Regions from separate parts of the Homo sapiens genome. Here all the other regions are linked to region 3. Evidence: promoter capture Hi-C in 16 types of primary human blood cells and fetal thymus (Javierre and others, 2016). All regions are on one chromosome and are shown on one strand. The core of a region is centred on a gene start or on the middle of the fragment in contact, and the rest is flanking DNA. Distances in the headings are between cores, read along the strand shown.

What was found. Contacts are between HindIII fragments. The CHiCAGO score rates a contact against its expected background, and 5 or more counts as called.
Region 1: a fragment that was not itself captured here is called in contact with the fragment with the promoter of ZNF219 in region 3 in 1 of 17 cell types (naive CD8 T cells); the score reaches 5.2 in naive CD8 T cells.
Region 2: a contact is called between a fragment that was not itself captured here and the fragment with the promoter of ZNF219 in region 3, in 1 of 17 cell types (naive B cells). The highest score is 5.3, in naive B cells.
Region 4: a fragment that was not itself captured here is called in contact with the fragment with the promoter of ZNF219 in region 3 in 8 of 17 cell types (naive B cells, total B cells, fetal thymus and 5 more); the score reaches 7.2 in naive B cells.
Region 5: a fragment that was not itself captured here is called in contact with the fragment with the promoter of ZNF219 in region 3 in 1 of 17 cell types (fetal thymus); the score reaches 5.7 in fetal thymus.

What each region holds. Positions count from the first base shown.
Region 1 is chr14:21,556,165-21,558,864 of GRCh38, forward strand. No RefSeq gene overlaps it. Among named protein-coding and RNA genes, the nearest start is that of OR10G3, 23 kb to the right of the region's middle. RefSeq lists enhancers at 1,388-1,931, 1,932-2,475 and a silencer at 2,494-2,680. The HindIII fragment of the contact is 2,598 bases long and covers 84-2,681 here.
Region 2 is chr14:20,655,491-20,658,190 of GRCh38, forward strand. TRY-GTA4-1 (tRNA-Tyr (anticodon GTA) 4-1) reads right to left here and starts at 2,067; the gene lies at 1,974-2,067. LOC124903281 (a long non-coding RNA gene) reads left to right here. Exons shown (of 2, transcript XR_007064059.1): 2 at 2,215-2,700. The HindIII fragment of the contact is 684 bases long and covers 974-1,657 here.
Region 3 is chr14:21,097,225-21,099,926 of GRCh38, forward strand. It overlaps ZNF219 (zinc finger protein 219), which reads right to left and starts at 1,431. Exons shown (of 5, transcript NM_016423.3): 1 at 1,088-1,431. It also overlaps a transcript of TMEM253 not described here. RefSeq lists enhancers at 1-353, 1,113-1,613. The HindIII fragment of the contact is 7,101 bases long and covers 1-2,702 here.
Region 4 is chr14:20,699,259-20,701,958 of GRCh38, forward strand. It overlaps RNASE4 (ribonuclease A family member 4), which reads left to right. Exons shown (of 2, transcript NM_002937.5): 2 at 97-1,958. The coding sequence starts at 114. The coding sequence ends at 557. EGILA (EGFR interacting lncRNA) reads right to left here. Exons shown (of 4, transcript NR_174964.1): 2 at 64-240. Among named protein-coding and RNA genes, the nearest start is that of EGILA, 6.3 kb to the right of the region's middle. RefSeq lists a silencer at 393-558. The HindIII fragment of the contact is 1,171 bases long and covers 768-1,938 here.
Region 5 is chr14:21,432,527-21,435,226 of GRCh38, forward strand. All of the region lies in intron 1 of CHD8 (chromodomain helicase DNA binding protein 8), which reads right to left. Among named protein-coding and RNA genes, the nearest start is that of CHD8, 22 kb to the right of the region's middle. The HindIII fragment of the contact is 1,326 bases long and covers 716-2,041 here.

The DNA of each region.
Region 1 (2,700 bases), core at 133-2,632, 460 kb after region 3:
AAAGAAAAAAGAAAAAAAAAAGTAAGATGAACATTTAGACGATAAAACTTAGAGAAGGCTTAGTGATCCGGAAGAAAGAAAGAAGCTTGTCACCTATCATTTGTAGAAGTGACAAGCAATAAAAATGTAAGCAAATAAATAACTACAGAATGAATGATAATTAAACAGGGTAGTGGGTCAGAAAGTGAAGAGAAAGAGTGGGGCTGGTGGTTAAGGAATTAGAGGGAAGACTTGATTCCATCTCAAGGTAGAAAGCTGTTCATATGCAGATCAACTGCTATCTGTGAATGGATACCCGAATATTGTCACAAACAAACTGAAATGCAAATACTCTTAGAAACTGGGGTATTAGTAATGCAAGTATGAAAAACATCTGATTTAAGCAGAACAACAACAACAAAACACCCTCATCATTCTTTGAATGACTTAATCTGTGAATGAAAACATTCACATCCTCATGATTTTGATGACAGAATAGATGATTTTTCTTTGTGCTGAGTTTGTTATCTCAAGCTGGAACTAAGTAAGGCTAGTCAAGGCCATCTGATTCTTATTGCTCATTCATTCATTCATTCATTCATTCATTCAACCAATATTTTACTGAGAGCTTGCTGTATGCGGAATTATGCTTTGCCTGGGGAATGCAGTGGAGGTTTTTTCCTTGGAGTTCTCTTACTCCAAAGGGCTTTAACCTTGGACAGGTTCTGACACTTGTCTGCTGACGTTTTTGTTTTGTTTTGTTTTGTTTTGTTGAGACAGGGTCTTGCTCTGTTGCCCAGGCTGGCAAAAAGATAACGGCTCACTGTGGCCTTGAACTCCTGGGCTAAGGCGATCCTCCCACTGCAGCCTTCAGAGTAGCTGGGACTATAGGTGTGAGCCACCATGCCCAGCTAATTAAAACAATTTTTTTTTTTTTGTGGAGATGGGATCTCCCTCTATTGCCCAGGTTGGTCTCAAACTCCTAGGCTCAAGTGATCCTCCTGCCTCATCCTCCCAAAATGTCGGGATTACAGGTGTGAGCCATGGTGCCTAGCCTGTTGATTTTTTTTTGGATAAGAGATAGAGAGGACCTGGTAATATACAAGGCCCAGAGTGTGTCCTAAGATGATCTATGGGGAGAGAACAGAGTATCCCTGACTGAAGAGTTTTGGAAACTATTTTAATGTTCCCCAATTTTATTTGAACTAAAAAACATTGTCTGCCTTTCACATTCCTTCGTGCACTCCACCTCACCACTGCTCCCCCGGCACCTGTTGGCCTCTTTTGCTATCCAAATTTACCAAATAAATCTTCCCCGCCTTTCTACCCATCTGCTGTTCTTCACAGCTTGTCTCTGGGCTCAGCCCCAAGCCTGGAGGGGCAGTAAATGGATTCAGAGTTGCTGCTCAAACATGGATTCCCATGGAAACCAAACGACTAAGAAAACAAATAGGGAGGAAGAGGCAGCCACTGCCTGACCTCTTACCCTCCCCCTCCAAATTCTTTTCGCTTTTCAGCATGAAAGCAAGCGCTTATTTGTATAACTAGTAGAAGGACATAACCTGACCCCTCCCCCCACCCCCAAATTCTTTAAGAATCTCTCGTTCGACAATGAGTAAATGAAAGACAGTGGGACATCGCCACCTGGTGGTAGAAATGCCAAAATACTTAAGAAGAGAGAACTCAATTAACAAGTGAAAGCCTGCGATACAGGCCAGTAAGTATACAAAGAAGTAACATTCAGATACAAAAATAAGATACAAAGAAGTAACATTCAGAAGCCACTCCTAGGAAACTGTTTAATTGTGATGCAGTTAGTACTTGTTCCTTCTCACATATACAGATTTAAATATCATCTTTATGTTGGTGAATTTTTATTTTTATTTTTTAAAAATTTTATTTATTTATGTATTTATTTTTGCGACGGAGTCTCACCCTGTCGCCCAGGCTGGAACGCAGTGGCGCAATCTCGGCTCACTACAACCTCCGCTTCCTGGGTTCAAGCGATTCTCATGTCTCAGCCTCCCGCGTAGTTGGGGATTACAGGCACCTGCATTATGCCCGGCTAATTTTTGTAGAGACAGGGTTTCACCATGTTGGCCAGGCTGGTCTTGAATTACTGACCTCAGGTGCCTCAGCCTCCCAAAGTGCTGGGATTACAGGCGCGAGCCACCACGCCCGGCCGAATTTTTTTTTTTTTTTTTTTGCATCCAATTCAAATATGGGAACATGAGGTTTAGTCTTATCTCTCCCAACTCCATACCAGATTTTTTTTTTGTTTGTCTGTTTGAGACGGAATCTCACTCTGTCGCCCAGGCTGGAGTGCAGTGATGCAATCTCAGCTCACTGCAACCCCCACCTCCCGGGTTCAAGCGATTCTCTTGCCTAAGCCTCCCGAGTAACTGGGACTAATACACGCACACGCCACCATGCCCAGCTAACTTTTGGATTTTTAGTAGAGATGGGGTTTCACCATGTTGAGCAGGCTGGTCTCGAACTCCTGACCTCAGATGATCCACCCGCCTCGGCCTCCCAAAGTGCTGGGATTACAGGTGTGAGTCACTGTGCCCAGCCATATTAGATATTTTTTATCTGAACGTCATGCTGTTGCTACAGATTCAGTGGAGTTGGACAGTACTTTTCTCTTCCCGTCCTTTCCCTTCCATAGGGTAGCATTTGCTGGCTTACAAAGGAAAAGCAGAAGCTTTGCTCCACTATCTT
Region 2 (2,700 bases), core at 66-2,565, 440 kb before region 3:
CACATCCAAGGAACCTGGCCACCATTGAGTTTAAGTCCACTCCCTGTCTTATGGCAAGTGGGTCTGGATCTCTGAGGGCAAGGGTCAGATGCTCACAGAACCCAGCTACTCTGTCATGGCTCAAACAGGAAGAGTTGGTACCCAGGTTTCAACCTTGCTTGTGCTGGCCACCAAAGCCCATTCACTGGCTCACCTCTGATTTTCCCACCAAAACACTAAACAGAGGTTCCGAAGAACCTGGGGGTCTCTATATCCCATCATGAACTTATCCAATAAGGGACAAAGGTACTACATTTCGTCTGTGTTCGCTAGCCTCTGCCTTTGGTGTCATTGGAGGCAGGGATCTCTCTGTGGCTCCAAAGCCATAGAATCATCCTGGGCACTGGCGATGCCACAGCTTGGCCTCCTTCTGTTAGCAATGAGAAGCAGGAAAGGCTGACAAAGCCAGGGGAACATTGGGGGAAATAGGGAGGTGGAGGGAGATCAGGAGCTGCTTCCCAAGAAAGACCTGTGTAGTCTTCAGTTTGAGACCTGCAATGAAACAGCTCTTGTGGCCACAGCAGGTAGTGGAGGCAGGTGTCCCAGTCCCCAGAGGGTTTCAGAGGGCCACGTTCCCATGGGCCATTTGGCTTGGAGTGCTCTCTGTGATAGGTTGCATGTGCGCATCAAATCTCTGGAGATTTTTTCTGAGATGGTGAGATGAGACCAAGGAACGCTTGTTGGCTTTCTTCTCTGCCCCATACCCACAGAACCCACTCCATCTCCCTGGAGGTGTAACCCCTGTTCGTTGGAGAAAACCTAAGTCCATTTCCTACTTCATTCTCTCTGATTAGGCCTCAGCACTTTTTCCTTTGGGGTGAGGGTAGAGTCCAACTGTGCCTCTAGTCCCAAAGCTCCAAACTGCTCAGACCCACCAGGCAGTGGCCTAAGGCAGCGAATTCGTGTGCCTCTGTATAATGACAGCTGTCACTCAAGCTTTACTTCTGCTCCCTGCCATGGACCCAACAGCCTCTAACTCTCCAGGATCACTGAAGCTCTTTTCCAGCCTGCACTTTTGTACTCCCCTTCCATCTCCCTTACCCTCTCAAGTAGCAGGGCACTCAACACAGGTGTTTTTGCTGGCTTTGAACTGAATATTAGGTCCTTTCTTTTCTAGCAGGGGCCAAACTCCGCTGTAGCAGCATGAAAAGTTGTGAAGGCTCAGAAAAAGTGAGGCTTGAGGGATTTGGGAAAAGCTATGGGGATAGGGGATAGACTCACCTTGTCCTCAACCTAAAGGGCAACCTGACCTTGCTAATGGAAGTTCTTAGGATTAGGAAATTCTCAGGGTGACAGCTGTCTCCCCAAAGTAGACACAGCAAAGTGGGAATGAACATTTTCTTTACGCCTGTATAGGTCTATACATTTCCAGCCAAGGAGAATGAGAGGGGCAGGCTGAGGGCTCAGGGAAGAGAGATAGGGAGGCAGAGACACAGAGACAAAGAGAAATATACAGAGACAGAGAAACGGTGAAAGAGAGAAAGAGAATGAGACAGAGACAAACATGAGACTGTCAGATCTCAATGCAGTGATAAAGAGCCTGAGATGGATGAGAGTGAGAGGGTGAGTTTTCACGGAAGATACCACGGTTATCCCCACTTTACACCCTTGTCAAGTAAGCTTGACGTTCTCCAGGGAACTTGACCTTCCAGGCTTTGCCCACCTGGTCAGGAGAGCTCTGTCAAAGGTGAGCACAGCGGTTTTGTCACAGCCAGTGGAGATGCTCAAGCTCGAGAGCAGTCTGTGAAGAAAAGCGAAGGAGCACAGGGTGGGGAAGTAGTGGTCAGCATGAATAGAGGGATTAGTGGGGTCACAAAGTAGAAGCAAGGCGTGGGAAGCTAGGTGATCAGGAAAGACTTCGTGGGTGTTTTGCCCGGGAGAGTGTGGTTACTACTTGGAAGCTGCAGGGCTTTTAACCAAAAGCATCACGCACTTCCTTCGAGCTGGAATCGAACCAGCGACCTAAGGATGTCCGCAAATGTCTATACAATCTACAGTCCTCCGCTCTACCAGCTGAGCTATCGAAGGATGCATGCTATCAAAGCTGGTTCATTGGACTTTCTGCAAACAGAGGGAGCCACATCCCTGGAATGCTTGAGGTCCAATACGCGTTGGGTTGGTTGGCACCCACCTTGGAAGAGAACCCTGCGCCGCTTGACACCACACCCCTTTCAGGGCGGAGCAAATCCTCTGGGCGAGGATGCCTGGTGTCTCTCGGGCTCTGATAGCCACCATCCACGAGGAGGAGCTCTCATCTGTGACAGCCTTCCTCTCCCTGAGCATCCACCTTTCTACAGGTGAGGATGACAGCCCCCAGTGGCCTGAGAGAAAATGAGAAGGTGAGTCAGCGAGGGCACAGGGATTGGCGAGGTGGTTGGGTGGGTCTAGTCGGGGAGAGAACGCTGGAGGAGGAAAAGAGGAGAACCCTAATGGGCGCTGGATAGGCAGCTGACAACTCCAACCCAACCTCAGAGTCTGGTGCAGGTCTCTAATGGGCGCTTCCATAATAGTCTGGCCTCTCTACTCCCTCCCCTACCACACACACAGGGCCCTCCTCCCCAGGTGCCCCGCCCTTCTCCTCATAGTAGTCTATGCTCACATTTTGGTGCATTGAGGTGCACTGGGAAGTGAGGTGAGGAAATCTCTCCCAGGCTTGCAGAG
Region 3 (2,702 bases), core at 181-2,680:
GCCTCCTTCCCTCTGTCCTCACTCTCCTGAGTTAGGGACATGGAACCTCAGCCATGGACTTCAAAGGTACAGCAGGAGGCGAGAGGAAGGCACACCTGCTCACCTGCTGCCATCCCACCATGGGGAATCTTATCCCAGAGGCATGTCCTAACGCAACCCCGATTTTGATTTTGAAAGTTCTGGAAGACCTGGGTTTGGGAAAGAGGGGCATGTAGCCAGCCCTAAGTCCCTTTAAGTGGAGCTGACCCTAGAAAAGTCAGTCTTAGCACCCACGTGAGCCTCGGTCCTCAGACTGGGAGGTAGGGGCGATCAAGGGAGCCTCTGGGAAAATCCCCCTCCCAGAAATAGATTGCTAAGTAGGGTAGGACCTGCTATCCTGCCGGAGAGGTTTTTCCAGCAGCACCCCAGACCCCTCCCCAGGAAGATAAGCCAGAAGGATGATGGGGGGCAGGGTTGGGAGATAGGGAGGCCAAGGCTCAGCTACCCCCGGCCAGGAGAACAAAAGCTGAGTTACAGCCGCCTCCGCTGCTGCCGCGGGCCGAGCTCTTTGTGACACTTTGTTTGGGACGCAAAGAGGGAAGCACCCCCCATCCTTTCCCCTCCCCCGCCACCCCGTGCTTCCAGAGAGTTTGGGCTCCTTCCCCCTCCCCCACCAGCCCTACCTGGGCCGGGGGTTGGGGGGTGCACATCCACTCAGGCTCGCGGCTCTGCCGCCCCTCACCCCCAGGTCCCTCGCGCCCTGCCTTCGGGCCCCTACAAAGACACCCGCCACCTCCCCCGCCACATCCCCCCCGTTGGCCCTTCCCTTTGGTGTCTGCTCCCCCAGCTCTTCCACCTGGCCCCCCCTCCCTTGGGGCCCCCCAGCTCTCCAGGCTTCCGAGGCCGCCACCCCCACCCCGCCCCCCCAGGAGCTCTGGGCGAAGTTTGCTTGGGGCCGAGCCGGCGCCCCTCCCCCGCCCCCGCCCCCTGCACCTGCTCCGAGCCGGGCGCGCTGAGCGGGCCCCCCCTCCGGGAGGGGGGAGGGGGCCGGGGGCGGGGGCCGGGTGGCGGACGGGGGGGCCCGGGAGTCGGGGGAGCGGCTACTCACGAGCCCCGGGCGGGCGGCGGCGGAGCGGGCGGCGGCGGCGGCGGCGGCGGCGGGCGGCGGGCCGGCGGCGCGGGCGTCAGCGTTACGTGGGGCCGGGGGAGATGCGCCGGGCCCCGGCCCCCCCGCCCCCGGCCCGGCCCCCGCCCCCTCCCCGGTCCCCCGCCCCCGGCCCTGGCCCGCATTGTGTGCGGCGGGAGGCGGCCCGGCCATTAGCATGCGGGGGGCGGCGCGGCGGGGCTGGGAGCCGCGCGGGAGCCGGGCTCTGGCTCCGGGGACAGGGAGCTGGGGACCCCGGGAGCCGCGAGAGGCGGCCGCCAGGGGCGGGGTGCGGGCGGTTTGGAGACGGGGGGCGCTGTCGGAGGGAGGGAGGAAGGGAGGGAGCGGGGGTGGGGCGCACAGAGGATTCCAACAGGAGACTGGAAGAGATTTTGAAAGGTCATCTCGTCCTTCCCCCAGCCTCCAAGCAGCACTGCCCCTCCCTCCCTAAACCCGGACATACCAGGGAAGGAGTTGGCTCTGCCGCTCTTTCTGCCCCAACATGCACAGACTCGGGAAGTTCTTCCTGGGGTTTTATCTCAAAGCCTCTCCCTTACAATTTCTGTCTCTCTTTTGGGGGAGGAGGAGGGGCGATTATAGAGATAGTTAATGTCGGCCGTATAAGAAACATTATTAAAGTTACTCTTCGGTCCTTTCCGTTCTTGATAAACAATTCCTGCGCCTTCCTCTCGAATTCTATTTTCCATTCCTCAAGTCACTTTAATGGCTCTTCAATACAACAAATATTTACTGAGTGCTTACTAAGTGCCAGGCACTGGGCTCAGCGCTGTGAGGGATGAGAAAGAAGTGGTACCTTCCTTCCAGGCGATTGTAGTCTAGACTACAAACTGGTAAGTAGTATACTCAGATTTAGTCAATATTTACTGAATGCCTGTTCACCTATCTAATAGTATATAATCTTTCCAATAACCCTCTATAATTAAATTAGCCCCCATTTACAAGTAAGAAAAATGAGGCTTCAGGAAGTCTGTTTCCCCAGTGGCCTGCAGGCTCGGGGATCCTCAGTGCAAGCCCAACATCTCACATCGCCACCAAATAAAATCAATGCACGTGGGAATTGAGGAGGAGTAGACACACAGCAGTTTTCTGGATCTCTTTAAAACGTGACTCCCACTCCCCGGGAAAGAAAAGAGTAGATACAATGACCCGCCGATGTTGGCACAGCACTGATGGGGCAGGAGTGGCTTACAAAAGATCACTTGCCTCCCAGGACCCTGCCTCCCTCCTCGTACTAACTTCTAGAGTCTTCTGGCGCAGTCTCCTCTTATCGTCAACAACAAGAAATAATAATAGTGATGATGATCATAGCCACTAACATTGAGCACTTGTGTACCAGGTACTGGGCTAAGCTCTCTTCCATGCTGAAAGCAACCCCTTGAGACTGGTATTATTAACTTCCTTTTATAGATAAGGGAACAGAGAGATTAAGCAACTTGCCAAGGGCACCTAGGTAGATCTGGGATTTGTTTTGATCTATAGAGTATATTTGGGCCCAGCTGGTTCTGCTTCCGACTGTAGAAATGTGTCCCCAGCTTCCTTCTGAATAACACTTTTAGTG
Region 4 (2,700 bases), core at 103-2,602, 400 kb before region 3:
GACTATGGAGTCAGGATGCCGGCTTGCTATTCTCAACACCTTTTTCCAGTGCCCAGTTCTTACCTTATTTCTCCTGCCCCTTGCTTTCTTTTCTAGGCACCTCTAAGATACTGATGGCTCTGCAGAGGACCCATTCATTGCTTCTGCTTTTGCTGCTGACCCTGCTGGGGCTGGGGCTGGTCCAGCCCTCCTATGGCCAGGATGGCATGTACCAGCGATTCCTGCGGCAACACGTGCACCCTGAGGAGACAGGTGGCAGTGATCGCTACTGCAACTTGATGATGCAAAGACGGAAGATGACTTTGTATCACTGCAAGCGCTTCAACACCTTCATCCATGAAGATATCTGGAACATTCGTAGTATCTGCAGCACCACCAATATCCAATGCAAGAACGGCAAGATGAACTGCCATGAGGGTGTAGTGAAGGTCACAGATTGCAGGGACACAGGAAGTTCCAGGGCACCCAACTGCAGATATCGGGCCATAGCGAGCACTAGACGTGTTGTCATTGCCTGTGAGGGTAACCCACAGGTGCCTGTGCACTTTGACGGTTAGATGCCACCATGTAGGGATTATCGCGAGTGGTTGACCTTACACTTACTCCTTAAATAGCAGTGAGTAATGCATTTGAGCTGTCCCAGGCTCTGTCTCCTCAGCTCATTTCCTACTCTTTTTCTCTATATAACTCATTCTATTAAATACATTGCACCAAAGAGATATGGAGACATAAACCTGTAATGAATGAGGCTGGGCTTTTCTGTAATAAGCTTCCTTTTATAATACTGGTCAGCTTAGCTCTCTCAGATCCTATCCTGTGGAATTTAGTTATTATGTGTATTTATGTAGTATTTCAAACATTTCAAAATGCTTTCATCTATGTTTATCACATTTTAATACCACAGCACTTATAATGATGTCACTACATATAGAAGCTCAAAGTTAAGGGATTTGCTGAAGACTGTAAAGTTAATGGAAGAATTGAGACAAAAATCCAGTGTAGCTGGCCACTTATCCAGGGCTTTTTCTACTTCATCACAAGGAATGTTTTGAAAGTGTCTGCTTTTTTTATCCTTAAAATTCACCTGTCAGGGAGGCATTAAAAATTTGGAAATGTATGCCAGCAAAATGTGAGCTCTGTATTTTTTGGCATTCTTATGTTTGGGTTTAATAAGATTAAGAAAATGATACTGGGAATTTTCTTTTTCCTGAAACTTTGAATCACCCTAGTAAGTCAAAGTACTAAAAAATGTACTAGATCATTAAGACTTATGTGCTCTTACTGATTGAAAGATTTTTTATGTTTTCCTTGTAATAAAGGACCTAAACCGAAGGTACCTGAGAAGACTGTGCTATGGTATTATTTTTTTTCTCTGACTTTTAAATTCTTGTTTAGTTTATAAACATGCATGCACCTTAATAACCTCATAAACTCTGGTCAAAGACTAATGCCTATCAGATCCATGACCACAACACAGAAGATTTGTCTCATTTACTCCAGAGAGAATGATTCCTCTCAAAGACAATTCTCACAGCTCTTCCTTCTCCCTTAGAATATTTAGAAGCAAATTAGGGAGCTGTCAGGTCTCTGAGCCCAAGCCTGCACGTATACATCCAGATGGCCTGAAGCAACTGAAGAACCACAAAAGAAGTGAAAATAACCAATTCCTGCCTTAACTGATGACATTCCACCACTGTGATTTGTTCCTGCCCCACCTTAACTGATCAATTAGCCTTGTGACATTCCTTCTCCTGGACAATTAGACTCAGGAGCTCCCCACCAGAGCACCTTGTGACCCCCGCCCCTGCCCGCTAGAGAATAACCCACTTTGACCGTAATTTCCCACTACCAACCCAAATCCTATAAAACTGCCCCACCCCATCTCCCTTTGCTGACTCCTTTTTTGGACTCAGTCTGCCTGCACCCAGGTGATTAAAAAGCTTTATTGCTCACACAAAGCCTGTTTGGTGGTCTCTTCACATGGACGCGTGTGGCATTTAGTGCCGAAGACCCAGAACAGGGGGACTCCTTCAGGAGACTGGTCCCCTGTCCTCGCCTTCACTCCATGAGGAGGTCCACCTATGACCTCAGGTCCTCAGACCAACCAGCCCAAGGAACATCTCACCCATTTCAAATTGGGTAAGCGGTCTTTTCACTGTCTTCTCCAGCCTCTCTTGCTACCCTTCAATCTCCCTGTCCTTCCAATTCCAGTTCTCTTTCCTCTCTAGTAGAGACAAAGGAGACGCATTTTATCCATGGACCCAAAACTCAGACACCAGTCACGGACTCGGGAAGATAGTCTTCCCTTGGCGTCTGATCATTGTGGGGATGCCTGCCCTGATCATTCACCCACATTCCATTGGTGTCTGATCACTGTGGGGACACCTGCCATGGTCATTCACCCACATTCCCTTGATGGCAAGTCAATCGCGGGATGCCTGCTTTGGCTGATCGTCCACGTTATAGCCCAGGGCTGCTCACCACCCCCTTTGCTGTGTCTCTACCTTTCTCTTTAAACTTACTTCTTCACTGTGGGCAACCTTCCACCCTGCATTCCCCCTTCTTCTCCCTTAGCCTGTGTTCTCAAGAACTTAAAACCTCTTCAACTCACACCTGACCTAAAACCTAAATGCCTTATTTTCTTCTGCAATACCGTTTGGCCCTAATACAAACCCAACAATGGTTCCAAATGGCCAGAAA
Region 5 (2,700 bases), core at 129-2,628, 340 kb after region 3:
TTTATATTCCCAACTTCCTCTTACCATCTCTTACATATATTTTACATTCCAGTCCAACTAGACTACACAATTCCCTTAATGTGATTCCTACCTGTGTGACTTTGCTTATGATGCTGTGCTTTCTGCCTGGAACACGTCCTCTCCATCCCAATGCCAATAATCTCTCGCAGCTAAAATCCTACCAACCCTCAAAGGTCTTCTACTCCATTAAGTGAGCCCTGAACCTCTGACGCTTTAACAACTGAGCAACTTGTGATGACTTGATCCCTCCACCTCCTTTAAATACCCACACCATTGTTTATACCTTAAAACACTTATATTTAATATTTTATTATAATGACCTAAGTCTGTAATATATCCTCTGAAGGCCCAAATGGTTCCTTTGCGCAAATTGTAAAAAGTTGCCCACTTCTCAAGATGCCTGGAAAACTGCCATACTAAATATATAAAAATTTGTTATGAATGTATGCAATGTACACCCTCCACAACTCTGTACCATGGCCCAGCTCCTCTTTCTCTGGGAGAAAGTTCTTGGATGGTGGGGACTATGTTTTATTTATCTGTGGATCCCCTAAGAACCAGCAGGACATAGCACATATAGTAGCTAATCAAAAAACAGTTAATGAATTATACTTGCTCGCATTATCTGGAGTAAACCATTCGATCCTCACAGAAACTAAATGGTATCCTTTGATTCTAACATGAGATGGTAAAAAGCTTCCTATCTTGAAAACATGTCTTATGAATGGCTGAAAGTAGGTTCACAAAATCCATGTCTAGGGTTTTAAGTTCATGAAACTAGTGGAAAAAAGAAAAGCTATCAAAGACAGGGAAGTATATCACCATAAAACCCAAATATATGAAAAAGAAATATCTGTTCTTTGTATATGATGACAGTATTTGACAATACAGGAAAGTCTTGCTTGGTAAGACCATTTCTCCTAACTTTTGGAAGACACCAGATAAGAAATTTGTCAGAGGCACAGTCCTGACTGAAGGAGACTTTTCCATATAACCCCCATGCTATGTTTTTTCCTTCCCAACCCATCTCACTTATCCTTATAAAACAATATAATATGGGTTAATATATCAGATACTCCAAAACAGACAAAGAGAACAAACACGTGAGTCAAAATTACAAAGTATACATGGTATCTCCAACAATGTTAAACAAGATCGTCCTTGCTTCAGTAATTGCATACTTTTCATATCTCAACCCAAGATCCATACCATCTCCCATTCCTGGCTAGCCTATTCCACCAGCTCATTCCAGCCTCTCATATCTAATATTTGCCTCCAAATTACTCAAAATGGCAATCAGGAAAGTTATGAATGCTTCCTGATTTAACGAAAACCTACTCAATAACTTGATATTAATAAATTTCCTTCCCATTATCATCAGCTTTTTTCCAGTATACCTACTTTGGCACCAATTATTTTTCATTCTCTACTCACCGTCAGAAGTTAAAGTATCTACAGCTAGGAGTAATATAAAAACAACAGTGAAAGTTTCTTTTTTTTTTTTTTTTTTTTTCTGAGACAGAGTTTCACTCTTGTCGCCCAGGCTGGAGTGCAATGGCGCGATCTCGGCTCACCGCAACCTCTACCTCCTGGGTTCAAGCGATTCTCCTGCCTCAGCCTCCCGAATAGCTGGGATTACAGGCCTGCGCCACCACACTCGGCTAATTTTGTATTTTTAGTAGAGACAGGTTTTCGCCACGTTAGTCAGACTGGTCTCGGACTCTCGACTTCAGAGGTGAGCCGTCGCCTCAGCCTCCCAAAGTGCTGGGATTATAGGCATGAGCCACCACGCTGAAAGTTTCTACTAACCAGAAGTTTACGTTGCAAATAGTTTATAGCCTGCTCCTTATTCCATGGAGTATTTTGTCGCTTCCATGATTCCTTGCTATTTGTTAATTCTAATGCTCTTCCTTTCCCCCATAATGATCCAATCTTAGGCCCAGATTTTTTTTTTTTTAAATAGGAGAAACAAGGCTGATGGTTTCTGATGAATCTCCTTACCCCCATATGACTTAGTATAAGCTTTTTAAAGATCAATGCATTGTCATTTATCTCTCCCTTCCCAATTTTCGAACCAAATTTCTGCTTCTTCTAGTTCGGTCTATGCCTAATAATTCAAAAACCTTGCCACCAAGTATCATTACTTCTCAGTCCCATCATTCTCACCTATACTGACCCAATTCATCTCATATTTTTATGCTAGTTTCCTACTTCTTTTCTAGTTCCTATCTTTAAACTGTCCTTGACTCTTACAAGATTAAACCTTCTCCCAACATACATCTAACTTTTTTTAACCCTCCTTCTACTACTACTTGTGGGTCACCCTGGCTATATCCACATACGGCCTATTTATTCTACCAAGCTCATCTATCTCATGAATCCTCTCAACCATCTCATGAATTCTCTTTCCTTGATTCAAACCCTAATAGCAAAAATGAACAGATGTTAAGTTGGTTTCAATGCAAAGTAACTGCCTAGATAAAGAAGTCACACCAACTTTTATCATATTAAGAATGAAAAGCCAGTGTTGGCCCACCAGTCCCCAAAAGAGAAACACATGTATGTGCTCAAAAGGAAAGACAAAACTTAGTGGTTGTACTTAGTCACTTTCCATAATTACAAACTAATGACCAGAATCATGACAGAAATCTTGGAGGGCATGTAGGGGGTGAGGGATGG